5 separate regions of the Homo sapiens genome follow, and regions 2, 3, 4 and 5 are each linked to region 1. Evidence: promoter capture Hi-C in 16 types of primary human blood cells and fetal thymus (Javierre and others, 2016). All regions are on one chromosome and are shown on one strand. Each heading gives the region's core, a stretch centred on a gene start or on the middle of the fragment in contact. The rest is flanking DNA. Distances are from core to core; before and after follow the strand shown. Region 1 holds the start of TENT5A (terminal nucleotidyltransferase 5A). Region 2 has its middle 4.2 kb from the start of PHIP. Region 3 overlaps HMGN3-AS1 (HMGN3 antisense RNA 1). Region 4 has its middle 3.5 kb from the start of LCA5. Region 5 holds the start of CYB5R4 (cytochrome b5 reductase 4).

Region 1 (2,677 bases), core at 49-2,548:
GCCAAAGCATCAAGTAAACTGAAACACTCAACACCGTCCACGCACGTCAGTTTACTGGTTTAAAAAATCAAAAATCAAAGAAATAACGCGCGCCCAAACTCGTGATGGCCACAGATTCATGGCATTTAACCGATGCCCCTCTGCCCGCTCCCCGTCACACCCGGCCCAGACTGGGTCAGGACCCAAGTGCATCTCGGGTGGTGTTACCTTGAGCGTGAGTGGTGTGATCTTCTCTTTGTTCACCCCCTCGGGTAAGAAGTCCAACAGGCAGTCCAGCACGACGTCCTTCACAGTCTGAAACTCCCCTTCCCCGCGCAGGTCGGCGCAGAAGATGAGGTCCAGGTCCTTGTAGCCCAGGCCGCTGTCCTGGTGCAGGACATGGCTGGCTGCCGAGCCGTTGAGGCGCACGTCGCGGACGCCAATGCGCTTCTCGGCCAGGCGCCGCCGCACCACCTTCACGATCAGGCTCGGCTGCAGCTCGAGCGTGGGGAAGTTGCCGCGCCCGTGAATCGGAATGGTCTCGCTCAGGATGCCGTCCAGCCGCTGCACTTGCTCCCAGTTCAGCACATTGCAGTGCGCCGTAGGGCTTTCGCAATAGTCCAAGCAATGCCCACCGAAGCTGCCGCCACCGCCGAAGTCGCCGCCGCCGAAGTCGCCGCCGCCGAAGTCGCCGCCGCCGAAGTCGCCGCCTAGGGGGATGTAGGGGCTGCAGGCCAGCTCGTCCTCAGACATGGCGAAGTACCCTTCACCCTCCGCCATGTAGTGCCCGCCGAGCGCCACTTGGCCCTGGTCAGTCCTAAAAAGAAAGGGAAAGGAGCGCGGTGAGGACGCGCGGCGGCGGAGAGCACGCGCGGCGGCGGAGAGCAGAGGCCCGCCAGGAAAAGAGCGCCCCCTCCCCCGATAGTTCCCTGACCCCGGGCCTCCTCGGAGACTCCCTCCCCCGGCCCTTACAGTCCCCAGCCGCGCACCGCGCCCCGCAGAGCAGCCCCGCACCAAAAGTATCTCTGATGCATCTGGAAAGCGCAAGCGAGAGTCCCGTCTGTGTCACCTGGAGGCGGCCGCCCCTTCTAGGAGCGCAGCGAGCGAGAGCGAAACCGAGAGGCGGCAACACTTCCAGGAGCTGCGAGCGCGCTCAGACAGCAAATAGCGACTTCGTCTTTCCCAGACCCCTGCCGCCTGCGCTCACCACTCCCTCCCCGCGACCCCTCCTGCGCCGCTGCCACCCCAGCTGCGGTGGTCCCGAACTGGCGGCTCTTGCTGCCACACACGCTCGTGTCTCTGGAGCTTTAGCAGTTGTGCGGGGAAAATGTCTTCAGTACTTTTTTTATACCGGGCTTCTCTGCGCTTCCGGGGCCCAGAGCGGCACGTTCGCCACACCCTCCTCATCTGCATAGGGCGCCGCCCCCTCTGCCCTCCCCCGCCCGCAGGGCACGCAGCTGACTAGCCCAGCAGTTAGTGCGGGACGACTGCCGGTGAGCGTGAGGTCCTGGGCTGTATGTGCGGATACTGTGTGCGCCCGTAGATGCGTGTATTTATACATACATTTAATTTATGTACGCCCCCTCCCACAAATCTCTTTTCATTTTCCCCAGGAGGAGACACTTTAAATGCCCCAGGAATCATAAGTGGTCATCAAAACCAGATCACGACTAAAATCCTGCAACTGCAGAAACTTCCCAAAATTCTCGCGGACTCAGCCCGTCTTTAGATCATCACGGTTGGGCTCCGGAGGTTCCTCACGACCGCTCTTTTAAACCTCGGTTTTTAGGTAGACCATTTACTCCATTGATAAACCCGATCCAAGTGTGGACTCATGAGTCCACTCTTGCACGCAAATCAGTCACGGCGCGTGAGTGGGAAGGGCTTGTTGATAACTGGGTTTCGATTCTCGAAACCTCGGGAAGCGCGCCGGGGAGCTCTGGGCGAGCCCGAGAAGGCGCGGGGGCGGCACCACGGGCCTCGGGCGTGCGCGGCTCCTGCGCACGAGTGGCTCCAAGGGGCCAGTACTTCGCGGGGGTCAGGGCGCGTCACGGAGCAGACGCGGGCGAGCAGCCAATGGCCGAGGACTGGGCGGGCCGAGTGGGCGCAGAGAGCGCGCCCGGGGAGTGCGTGCTGCCCCGGAGTCCAGGGAAAGGGCCGCTAGGTGTCCGGTGCCTTTGCTGCGAGTTCTCTGACAAAATTGGAGGCGGCGAAGCGCGTTCCTCGCGGCCCCCTAAAGTTTGGCCATTTTAAGTGCATCATAGTGTCAGTGGAATACGATTTGGTTTTCCACGAGACGTAAAAGTAGGAGTTTCAAGAATAAAATGAATTCTCTCCTCCAGCTTCGGTGACTTCGGCAGAGCTAATTCTACGCACGCTCACTCGCGCCACCACCACTCTTTGCTAGAAAGCTGTGGCCGTCTCTTCGGCAGCTCGCTGCCTCCATCAACTAACCCGGAGCAGCTTTCCCAGCGCCTAGACGCTGCCGGGGGCTGAGGTGGGGCAGAGGGGAGAATGCCAGGGTCACAGAATACTCCCCAAACCCTGCTCAGCCCTGCCCGCCCAGACTGGGAGGAAAAACAGCCCGCACCTCCTAACTGGGGGAGCCCCGGCCTAGTCACTCAAGCTGCGCGGCTCGGGGGTGAGGGGTAGGGTGCGGGGGTGTCACCCGTGGAGCATCCAGCTGCGTGACAACGCC
Region 2 (2,677 bases), core at 59-2,558, 2.7 Mb before region 1:
AATTTTTTGTTCAGCCAACTCTTTTGCATATAAGGATAGTTCAGATTCCATCTATATCCTTTCCTGTTTGTTTATTTTAACATTTTTATGGGTTTCCAAAAATAAAATATCACTTTAAAAAGATCTCCATGCAGTTTAAATAACAAGGTTAACAAATAATAGTAAAAGTTTGGAAAGCCAAGACCTAACGTTTTTACATAATATAGTCTCTCTAGGAGATATAGAAACTTTTCTTGAAATATAAAAGTTTATGTGAAATTCATCACTTTTCACGTGGCAACACATGAAACAAAATAAATATTTAACAAAAATTTTGTCTTGATCTTGTAAGCTATTATTCCAATAAAATAATCAAATACTATCATTTCAGTTGTTTCAGGAACAAGATGGGATGGTATTTATAAGTACAAAAATTATACATTTATGAAATTTAATCTCCAGTAGTATGGTGAATAATACGTAACTCAAAAAATCTCTATAAGTACAACTTTTAAAATTTCATGTTAAATCTTGCTTTTGTTTTGATGTTACATTTCTTCTATAGCAGAAGCTTTATCCTGTGAAATACAGAAATGTAAAAGTAGAAAACACTGTTCTCTCAAAAGTACTTTAAAAAAAACTACTCATCTGCCCCAAGAACACAATACAACTGTCAAGGATCTTATTTAACAAGCCACACTCCTCACTGTGGCTTGCTCCCCAATATTGTGTGTTTCTGTCCATGCTTATCTGACTTTCTCTCTCTCTTACACACACACACACACACACACACATATCCTTCTTCATAGAGCATGAATATTTATCAGATTTGAAGCACATGAACAGATATACTATTTGGCTGCTCCAAAAAGAATAGAGATAACCAACTTAAGTGAGCCATTCCATTATTTAACAATGTTTTTGTTATTTAACATTAACAGTTCTCCCTTATATCTCACTGAGGAATCTTTTTACTTAAATTAGAGCACGTTTCCTTTTAATGTGTAACAAATATAGCTAGTCCTCAACAATCATGTTATCCCTTATGTATTTAAATGTTAGTAATTCACTCAATCTTTTTTATCCAAGTTAAATAATTCTAGTAGTTTGTATTTTTATAAGTCTTAATTTGCACAAGAAATACACATCTTCATGGGTTTATTTATATAGTTTGTTTTAAATGATCACTTCATGAGTTTTAACAGTACAATTACAAAGATTAAAGGAGAAAAACAATTTTAGAACATATTCCCCTAAGATTTGGAGCAACACAGTGGATGAAGCAGAAAAAGCTGTTCCAGATGGCAGGAAACATAAAGGAGAAGTCTGTAGGCATGTTCTATCATAGGAAGATGTCTGATGGACTGGGAGTGGGCTGAGTTGAACAGAGAACAGTGAAAGAAGAGAAGGTAAAGTGGGGGAGGGGAGGAGAAAATGGGTGCAGAGGCTCTGGTAGTACACTATTATCTATGCGATGTTAAGATGGCATTTGAGAAAAACAGTTACATAGTCACTTGCCTTTATATGTGCCTAAAGCCATAAACTTCAGGAACCCCAAAGAAAAAGCATTTTAGTTATAGAAAAGGAAGGGAAAGTTTTATCTGACAAATAGTGAGGAATCTATACAGAGTAAAAATAATGGATATCAAGGACACCAAAGTAGACACTACTGATGACAAAGAAGAACAGGTGTTTGAAAGAATAAGGACTGAACATTCAGAGCACTCACAAGTCTGACTTGAGACTCATATATAAGTTCTAATTCAAAATTAAGAATAAAGCAACTTAGATTTAACTGTAACCAAAAATACTCTATTTTCTGAATTCCTATAAGAGACCTAATTATACAATCTAATTTGTATATTATTTTTGTTTTTCTTCATATATGGGGATGTGTGTGTACTTGCGAAGGTCCCCCTGACTTATGCCTCTGTTGCTTTATTCTCTTTCACAGATATTCTCATACATGTTTATTGAAACAATGACTAGCTATTACAAAAAAATTAGTTATATCATAGTTAAAAATTTAAAACAATATTGATACCAGGTAGATCTTTCAACCAAGATGTGTGTGCTAAAATTTAAGAAAAGCTTATAATTTGATTTTAAGATTACACCTACAAATCTTGTTACACTAACAGTTTTCATGTTTACACTTGAGTGCCTAAAAATACAGGTGCAGACGAAATGGCTGGAGTGGATTTTTAAATGCTCATCAAAATTTACCAACTGATAATGATTTATAGACAAACTATGATAGCCTTTAGATGGAATATTGTGGTAAGAATATATGTGGTATTTCCCCTTAACAGGTATCAGAAGTAATGCCTCTAAGACATCATTAGAGAAAATCTTTCTTAAAAATGTTGGGTAAGTAGCATCATGTGAGAAGGAAGAAGTATATTGTCTTTTTGTCTTATTATAGTTTGTACATGTTACACTTTACACTTGTTTTTGTCATTCAGTGTTTTGGGTTTTTTGGCAAGTACTTGTGTAAGAATTCCATCTTTCCCTGATATTCCGGCATTTTCAGTTTTTTCTGTGTCTCTGTAAAAGTTTCCTTCTTTTCCATCAGTGAAATGTTAGTTTCCAAAGGTAAAATACGGAAAATAAGATATGTAATTATTTGGAGAAACAATTCCCATGTTATATTTTCAGTTTGGATATATTCTAAGAACTCTAAAAATATAAATATGAA
Region 3 (2,677 bases), core at 123-2,622, 2.5 Mb before region 1:
ATGACAATAGTATACTGAAACGAATTAAGATAAAAACCAATTGCTTAGAGCTAGATAAAAATTTACAAGTTAATAATTTTATCATTAAAATAATATTTATAATGAAGATGTCTTTCAAGATATTAATTTGCCAAATACTTGATAGTTAAATAAAGAAAAAGTCAGTGAAAACATTTTTAGTAAGATATGTGTGAGAAGGATACTGAGTAGCACTTGCAATCTGGACTGGATGGCTATTTTTCTTCATGGAGATGGAAAGGTGCCACAACAAAGGTAGTGCTAAGGTGAATATTTCTCCTCTGTGATGAAAAATAACTCACAAAATTGGCTTCTTTGTTAATTTTTTTTCAAAACCAAACACTCAGATCATCAACAGCAAACAAAATTGTGAATGTTTTTACTGCACACAATAAAAATGCTACGATGAAATTGAAGCTTGCTTGTTGGATGAAGAAAGCTGATTGTGAGGACCTCGAGTTCTTGGAATCTTTAGTTCATTTACAAGTTATGAAAATAACAGCTTCGGTTGAAAAACAACAGCATTGCTTATCTTTCCTTTGATGTAGATTGCACCTGGCTGAGCACTACTCTAGGAAATGAAGTGTTCTCCCTTGTACCTTTAGTAGCCTTCAAGATCTGGGAAAGTCAGTGCAAACCTCTACTGGTGGCCCTGGAGGTAAGAAGAGTAGGCAAAGAGAATGATTTAGCAGGTAGCTAGAATTCTAGGTTAAGAGATAAAGACATCTGGGCAGAAATGAGGGTGTCACATAGAAGACAGTGAGGAGGTCAAGCTGGTAAGAAGTACAGACTCATTTGTTTATCAATATATTCCACTGAGCATTTCTACTACTTTGGAATATCAGCCTCTAAGACAGTAAAAGTAGGATGTATATACTATCTTAGCTAAGGTAGACCTGGATAAATTAACAGAGTTACTGACTGAGACAGAAAGAAAAAAAATAGTGAACAAACTTGTTTTCCAATTCCAGCTCCTCTCCTCTTTTGTCCTACTCAAAACTGTTGGAACTGTACACCTACTTCACATTTTTCAATCAGCAGGGCAAAACCATTTATAGTGTCATGACTATCATTAAGGAAAAGAAAGAGACAGAGACATTGACAGACACACACACGCAAACACACACACAGAGAGAGAGAGAGAGAGAGGGAGAAGGGAGAAGGGAAGGCTAAGAAAAGCAAAGAAAGGGCCAAGCATAGAAAATAGCAGAGTATATATGGTAAAGGTAAGTAATGTTTCATAAGATAATTGTTTCTATTTTCCATATGTGCTCATATAAACACATACACAACACAGATATGTATGTGTGTATGTTGGATTGTGACATGAAATATATTTTTAGTATGGTCTTGGTCAAAAAAATTGAATGCCACTGCTAATGAATGTTGTGGATCTTTGACATTCCGAAAAAAAAATGCTTAATATTAAAATTTTTTTTTTAGAGGTAAGATCTCATTCTGTTGCCCAGGCTGGCATGCAGTGGCACAATCATAGCTCACTGCACGTCAGACTGCTGGGCTGAAGAGATCCTCCTGCCTCAGCCTCCTGAGTAGTTATATAGGTGCAAGCCACCACACCAGGCTTGAGAGGAAGTTTTCAAGGGAAAGAATGACTTGCAGATCACCTCCTTCTTGAACTGTCCCTCTTTTCCTCTTTCAGGCAGACACAGGCAGGGTCCCTTAGGCTTTTGCTGTAAGTAATGACAAATTACTGGAGAAGTCAGATCCAGAATGTACATATTGTTGCTTTTGATAGTTGCAACTGTACACCTACTTTGCATTTTTCAGACAGCAGGGCAAAACAAATGATAGTCATGACTATCATTAAGGCAAAGAAAGAGACAGAGACATTGGCAGACAGACACACACACACACACACACACACACAGAGAGAGAGAGAGAGAGAGACAGACAGAGGGAGAAAGGAAGAAAGGGGAAAAGTGAAAATGATACTGTGTTGCTTCTGATAGTTTGTAATTCCAGATTAAGTTACTAATCTTCCATAAATAGGTCAAAAAATACACAGTGAAGAATTCAGGTGTGTAACAAAACAACATCAAAAACAACAAATAAGAGGTGGCAAAAGAATATTTTGTTTGTATTTTCCAGTCAAGTCTCTACTTTGATTGGGTGCTAACTTTTGAAGAGACCAAGGTTAGTTTTTACAAAGCAACAATAAGAGTCCAAGAACTAACGGTCCCAAATCAAATGAGCTGCCTGATATTAGTGCAGATCCCTAGGCCCCAGTCCCAAGGTATTGAATGGCTAGGCTTGGAAATCTGCATTTTCAAACAAGCTTTTCATGTGTTGCTTACACTATAATTCGGGGACTAGAGTATTTAATAGACTAGGCCCTTGCTCTCAACAAATATTTGCTGAATGCCGGTACTTGGATTCTGATGACAGGTATCTATAAAAGCCTGTGGAGTTCTCAACATACTTCCAGAGCAGGAGCGTAATTCTGTGGGTGAAACTCGCCCCACAGTCCTCACCTCATGCTTTTGCTCCATCTCAGTTTTGCTGGGCACAACCTGTTTATTTCACTTTCTTTCTCTTCTGTAGTTGCAAGGAACCTGAAGAGTGATTAAAAACTGCACACATCCAGATACCTAGAAAAGTGTCTTCTTCTTCCCAGGCAGCCCCTCTAGGCAGCTCCTTG
Region 4 (2,677 bases), core at 131-2,630, 2.2 Mb before region 1:
AGGACTTTGATTGGCTTCTTTATTGCCATATGGCAATGATGTAGATGTTATAATGTAACTAAAATATTCCTACAAATGCTTACTAGTAGGATTATTCTCATTTTCCTTTGGGGAAACTAGTGTCGAGTTTGAATGGTTGGTTAGAAGTTTCAAAAAAGTAATAGGTAGATAAATAGACTCTCTAACTGTAGACAGAGAAATTACAATGACCATAATTTGTAAAGTGGGGGGACATACTATATATAGTATCTTGGAAAGCACATAAGTATAATTATCCTTAGCTAAAGTTCAGTCATCTATTTCATACCATTCTACAAAAGAAGAAAAGCAGTGTCACAATTTTATATAATTTACAGAAATGTGATACATAACAAAAATTCAAAAATTTTTTCTCTAACTTCTTGATCTCATGTTGCTTGGAAATTTTAAATTTATTAATAGATTCTAGGTAAATAGTTGGTTTTAGCATATAACACTAAATTTGAAACAGTATCTAATATGCTGCATGTTTAAGAGAAATCGAATGGATTGGTTGAGTTGGGTGTAAAGAACAGTATAATTGGCCGGGTGCTGTGGCTCATGCCTGTAATCCCAGCACTTTGGGAGGCCAAGGTGGGTGGATCACGAGGTCAGGAGATCAAGACCATCCTGGCTAACACAGTAAAACCCTGTCTCTAATAAAAATACAAAAAAATGAGCTGGGCGTGGTGGCGGGTGCCTGTAGTCCCAGCTACTCGGGAGGCTGAGGCAGGAGAATGGCATGAACCCGGGAGGCGGAGGTTGCAGTGAGCCGAGATCGCGCCACTGCACTCCAGCCTGGGCAACAGAGCAAGATTCCGTCTCAAAAATAAATAAATAAATAAATAAAATAAATAAATAGTATAATTTCATACCTAGAAAGTGGGCTGCTCTGATGAAAACAAATGTAGTCTAATCTGATTGCTATGAATACTTGATTTTGCAGTACAAAAAGCTAGTAGCCTTTGATTATTGCTCTGTTTAAAGGATACAGTTTCTGATCACTTGATGAAATGTACGAGTTTTTTTTTGTTAATGGAGAAAGAAAACTTGAGATGTTTGTAAAAATGTGTATATACTTACAACATAATGCTGGTCATCGATAGAATGAACTACTGATTAACACGGATTAATTTTAAAGACAATATTGAGCAAAAGAAGTCAGACACAAAAGAATATATTCTGTATACTTCCATTAATAAGTGATTCAAAAACAGGCAAAATTCATCTAAACTGGAAAAAATTAGAACAGTTATTGACTGTGGGGATGGAGGTAGGATCAAGTGGAAGGGACTGAAAGTTATTTTTGGAGTGATGTGAATATGCTGTTTTGACTGACGTGGTAGTTAAAGAGAGTTTCCAGCCGGGCATGGTGGCTCATGCCTGTAATCCCAGCACTTTGGTAGGCCGAAGTGGGCAGATCACTTGAGGTGAGGAGTTTGAGACCAGTCTGGCCAACATGGTGAGACCCCCATTTCTACTAAAAATACAAAATTAGCCAGACGTGGTGGTGTGTGCCTGCAGTCCCAGCTTCACGTGAGGCTGAGGCAGGAGAATTGCTTGAACCTGGGAGGCAAAGGTTGCAGTGAGCTGAGATCACACCACTGCACTCCAGCCTGGGCGGCAGAGTGAGACTCAGTCTCAAAAAAAAAGAAGTTTCCTTTATCAAAATTCATTAAAATATATAAAATATGTGTGCTTTTCACTGTATGTAAATTTTACCTCAATTTCTGAATGGCTTAAAAAAAAAGAATGCATTGGTTTGTATAACAGAAAAATCTAGTAGACCTAGCTCCACGTATGGTTGGATCCAAGTGCTCAATGTTATTAAAATTTTTTCTTCTCTTTGTCTCTTGGATGTACTTTTCTACGTGTTGGTCTTATTTAAGGCAGGCTTTCCCTTCCAGGTATGGCCACCAGTGCTCCAGATTTACATTCTATTTACCTCACAACCCCAGTGGAAAAAGAATATCTCTTTCCTGATTGGTCCAGCAGAAATCTTGGTATTAACTCTGACTGCCCACACTTGAATATGAACTATTAGTAAGTACTGTGGCCAAGAGTTTGCTTCGGGAAAGAATATGATAAAGTCACCTTATCTTTCATGTTTGCTCAGAATAGTGAGGTGATTCTCCACAGGAAAACTGGAATGCTGTTACTAGAAGAAGAAATACTGGACAAAGCTAATAGATGTCCCCAAAAGTGATGATAATAATTTTATTCAAATAGGTTCATAGATCAGTCTGGTGGGCTTGTTTTCACATTTTATTTAAGAAAAACTCTTGTAATTACAAGTTCCCCAGTCTGTAAATACAGATGAGATTAACCAAATTTTGTTATTTTTTGACTGCCTCTGCTTTATAGCACCCCTCCCCTCCAAAGACTTCCCCACCAATAATTTCTGGGACTTCCTAGAGAGTGTCTCATACTTACAAACATACCTGCCTCTACTGGTCATCCCACTAGGCAAGATACCAGGACCACTGCTCTGCCAGGCAACAGTCTATCCCTCTTCTCTCCAGGACCCAGCAACTTCTGCTGGTGGCCATCATGAAGTCACTGAGTACCACCACTTACACCAGTGCCAGAGTTGAACTGGAATTGTGCCAGTTATATGCCTTTTGTTTCTCAGATCCTAGCCTGCCTTTTCTATATCCTA
Region 5 (2,677 bases), core at 51-2,550, 2.1 Mb after region 1:
CTCAAATTCAGTCTTCTCATAATAAGCATTTCAATTGCAAATAAAAATGGATAGAGGTGAATGTCATAGGTGGCTACCTTATTTGAATGCTTGTATTTGAATGGCCACATATAGTCACACACTTTTTCTTCTGATTCTGCAAACATAACCTTGATTTTTTAGGCACTTTAAGAACTAAGTAGTTAAACAGAGAAAGTTTAAAGCATGACAATATGTTCAGAGTTAGGAAAAATTAGTAATTAAAGGAGGATGGGGAGGATTATTTAGAACTATGTTTCTTCTCCTGAAAACTTTCTCCCTTATTGGATTCTACTCTCAAGATCTATGTGTTCCCCAAGGGACACACAAAACAATCAATCAAACAAACAAAAACCATCAGATTTTGAGCATTAGAGCCTGGTGTTTACCTGCACAGTGTTGGTCCTTTTCCCATTAATATGTTGGAATAGCACAAACAGCCACTGCCACTTATTCAGTACCTAATATTAATCAGGCACTGCAGTATGTAGTTTACACATGATCCTTTAATCTTTAATAAACCCATTATGCAGATGGGGAAAATGAGACTTTGAGATACTAAAGTAACTTGCATAAGACAGCTCAGTCATTAAGTGCAGGGATGGCATGCAAACCAAATCTGACTTTTAAACGTTACTTCATCACCACAGCTGGAGGTGAGCTGCATCAGTACACAATTCCCAGTGAAGACAGGAAGTTACATAAGGAGGGAGAATTTGTGAGTGGGTGAATAGAGCAGAAGGTGACTTTACTAACGTCTTTCGCGCATTCATTAGCCCTCAGCATGCTTAAAGGTGAAGTTTAAGGATGATTAAAGGTGAGGTTTTCTTCTTACCCCACAGTAGTGGCTGTTGACATTTGATATTTTTGCTCTTAAAGGTGTGAGATGCTCTTTGCATTACAGCCTAGTGCCTTACAGGAAAGAATTTCAGAGAAACTAAAATTCGTTTTAGTCCATATTTCAAGTAGTGTGTTTTAGTCCATATTTCAAGTAGTGTGATGGTACTGCTTAACAATGAACAGACATTGCTGTTCCGGGTTAACAGGACTAAGAATTTGTTCCCACATTCGGTCAGCACCAAGGCTAAGGAACAGCTTCACTCTCTAATCTTTCCACGAAATAGCTGTCACCTTGCTCCGGTGCTGAAGTTCGGGATGCGGAACTAGCTGAGCATGCGTACTTCCTCCCTGCCGGCCCTCCCTCCGTCCCGTTGGCTCCGCCCTCCGCGGACGTGCTGCGTCAGAATGCGCCTCACCCCTGGCGACCCCGGAAGTGGGTCGGGGGCTTGGCCTCTGCCCGGCCACAGAGCCGGAGCTGGAGGTGCTGTCCCGTCTGGCGGCGATCCCCGGGCAGGGCCCGGGGCCGGGGTTTGAAGATGCTGAACGTCCCTTCCCAGTCTTTCCCGGCCCCCAGGTCGCAGCAGCGTGTCGCCTCCGGGGGGCGTAGCAAGGTAAGCGGGTGGCTCCGTGAGTCTCTCCCCTCGCTGCGTTTCGAGCTCTGGCAGTGTGTTCTCTTCTTCCGCCCCAACTCCCAGCTCCTGCACCCCTCTCTAAGCTGTCGTTCCCTGCTGTCCTTGCCTGCAACCTCTTTCTGATCCCACTTTGTCTACAGTCCCTAAACTCTCCTTACCTCCTCCCTTTCCCCTAGCAGTCCCTCTTCTTTCTGGTCCTTTATCCCGCTCTATCCGTTCCCTTCCTCCAAGTCCTTTCCCGCGATTTAAATTTATATGACAGAGCCAGGCACTGTGTTTGCGGTATTATAGGCTCTCGGTATTAGCCGCCTTCCCTCAACCTCATCTTCTCCCTGGTCTTTTGTTCTTCACTGCCTGAAGGAGTTGTACCACATCACTCGATGTGGGTTCCCTCGCAGGAGGGAAAGGCTTGGCAGTGGCGACAGTGACCGTCCGTGCAAGGATGGGGACTTCTGGAGTTGGGGAGCTAGGTCAGGTTTACAGACACTATCCAAGACATACTGCCTTTCTTTCTTCCTCTGGTACCTGATTGTTTTGTCATTGCCTTTTCTACTAGTATCACTTGCTAACTTCGAAGCAAATATAATAATACTCTTGAGTTCTTGTTGAGCACAGTTGCTGTTAGCAACAGGTGGAATACTGTACAGATATATTTTATATTTGCAGAATTCAATAAAAATTGTGTTCTTTGTTCTTTTGCGAATGTTGTTTGTTCCTATTTGTTAGTTCCTCATTCTGTAACCATATCTTTATCTTTCGTTTGTGACACTTCCACTTAACTTGGGCCACTCGGTTAACTCTTGAGTCTTAGCATCGTTTGGAACCCTTATCGATTTTCTTATTTTTCTCCACTTAGACCTGGCGTTCTGATTCTAGTTCAGAATGAATATAGGTTCAGGGATCTGTGGTTTTCATTAGCTTTCCAGAGATTTCTTAAGTACTTACGGGTGGCCGTGTATATTCTCAGTGCTTTGCATGTATTAACTTTAATTTTCACAATTATCCTTTGAAGTGAAAGCTTTTATTGTCTCTATTTCGCAGAAAAGGAAACTGGCTAAGAAATATTGCCCTAAATTGCGTAGGCTTGTGTTGTGGTTCTGCTGTGAAATTTCATTTACTGATTCATATATCAATCATCTAGCCATCCAATCATGTATATTTTTCTCATTGGTTTTTGACCTATTTCT

Evidence for each region. The method cuts DNA at HindIII sites, captures the fragments that hold promoters and counts their contacts. A CHiCAGO score of 5 or more calls a contact.
Region 2: a fragment that was not itself captured here is called in contact with the fragment with the promoter of TENT5A in region 1 in 1 of 17 cell types (total B cells); the score reaches 6.9 in total B cells.
Region 3: a contact is called between a fragment that was not itself captured here and the fragment with the promoter of TENT5A in region 1, in 1 of 17 cell types (naive B cells). The highest score is 6.2, in naive B cells.
Region 4: a contact is called between a fragment that was not itself captured here and the fragment with the promoter of TENT5A in region 1, in 2 of 17 cell types (fetal thymus and total B cells). The highest score is 5.4, in fetal thymus.
Region 5: the fragment with the promoter of CYB5R4 here is called in contact with the fragment with the promoter of TENT5A in region 1 in 3 of 17 cell types (neutrophils, naive CD4 T cells and total CD4 T cells); the score reaches 6.4 in neutrophils.

The regions. Positions count from the first base shown.
Region 1 is chr6:81,751,383-81,754,059 of GRCh38, forward strand. It overlaps TENT5A (terminal nucleotidyltransferase 5A), which reads right to left and starts at 1,299. Exons shown (of 3, transcript NM_017633.3): 1 at 1,049-1,299; 2 at 208-796. The coding sequence starts at 759. RefSeq lists enhancers at 960-1,460, 2,321-2,370 and a silencer at 1,371-1,500. The HindIII fragment of the contact is 5,877 bases long and covers 1-2,677 here.
Region 2 is chr6:79,081,123-79,083,799 of GRCh38, forward strand. No RefSeq gene overlaps it. Among named protein-coding and RNA genes, the nearest start is that of PHIP, 4.2 kb to the left of the region's middle. The HindIII fragment of the contact is 1,520 bases long and covers 549-2,068 here.
Region 3 is chr6:79,236,369-79,239,045 of GRCh38, forward strand. It overlaps HMGN3-AS1 (HMGN3 antisense RNA 1), which reads left to right. Exons shown (of 2, transcript NR_040671.1): 2 at 1-432. Among named protein-coding and RNA genes, the nearest start is that of HMGN3, 3.0 kb to the left of the region's middle. The HindIII fragment of the contact is 1,879 bases long and covers 434-2,312 here.
Region 4 is chr6:79,539,592-79,542,268 of GRCh38, forward strand. It overlaps a transcript of SH3BGRL2 not described here. Among named protein-coding and RNA genes, the nearest start is that of LCA5, 3.5 kb to the left of the region's middle. The HindIII fragment of the contact is 5,167 bases long and covers 1-2,677 here.
Region 5 is chr6:83,858,389-83,861,065 of GRCh38, forward strand. It overlaps CYB5R4 (cytochrome b5 reductase 4), which reads left to right and starts at 1,301. Exons shown (of 16, transcript NM_016230.4): 1 at 1,301-1,469. The coding sequence starts at 1,395. The region is part of intron 3 of RIPPLY2-CYB5R4 (RIPPLY2-CYB5R4 readthrough); the gene reads left to right. RefSeq lists a silencer at 1,372-1,421. The HindIII fragment of the contact is 3,476 bases long and covers 1-2,506 here.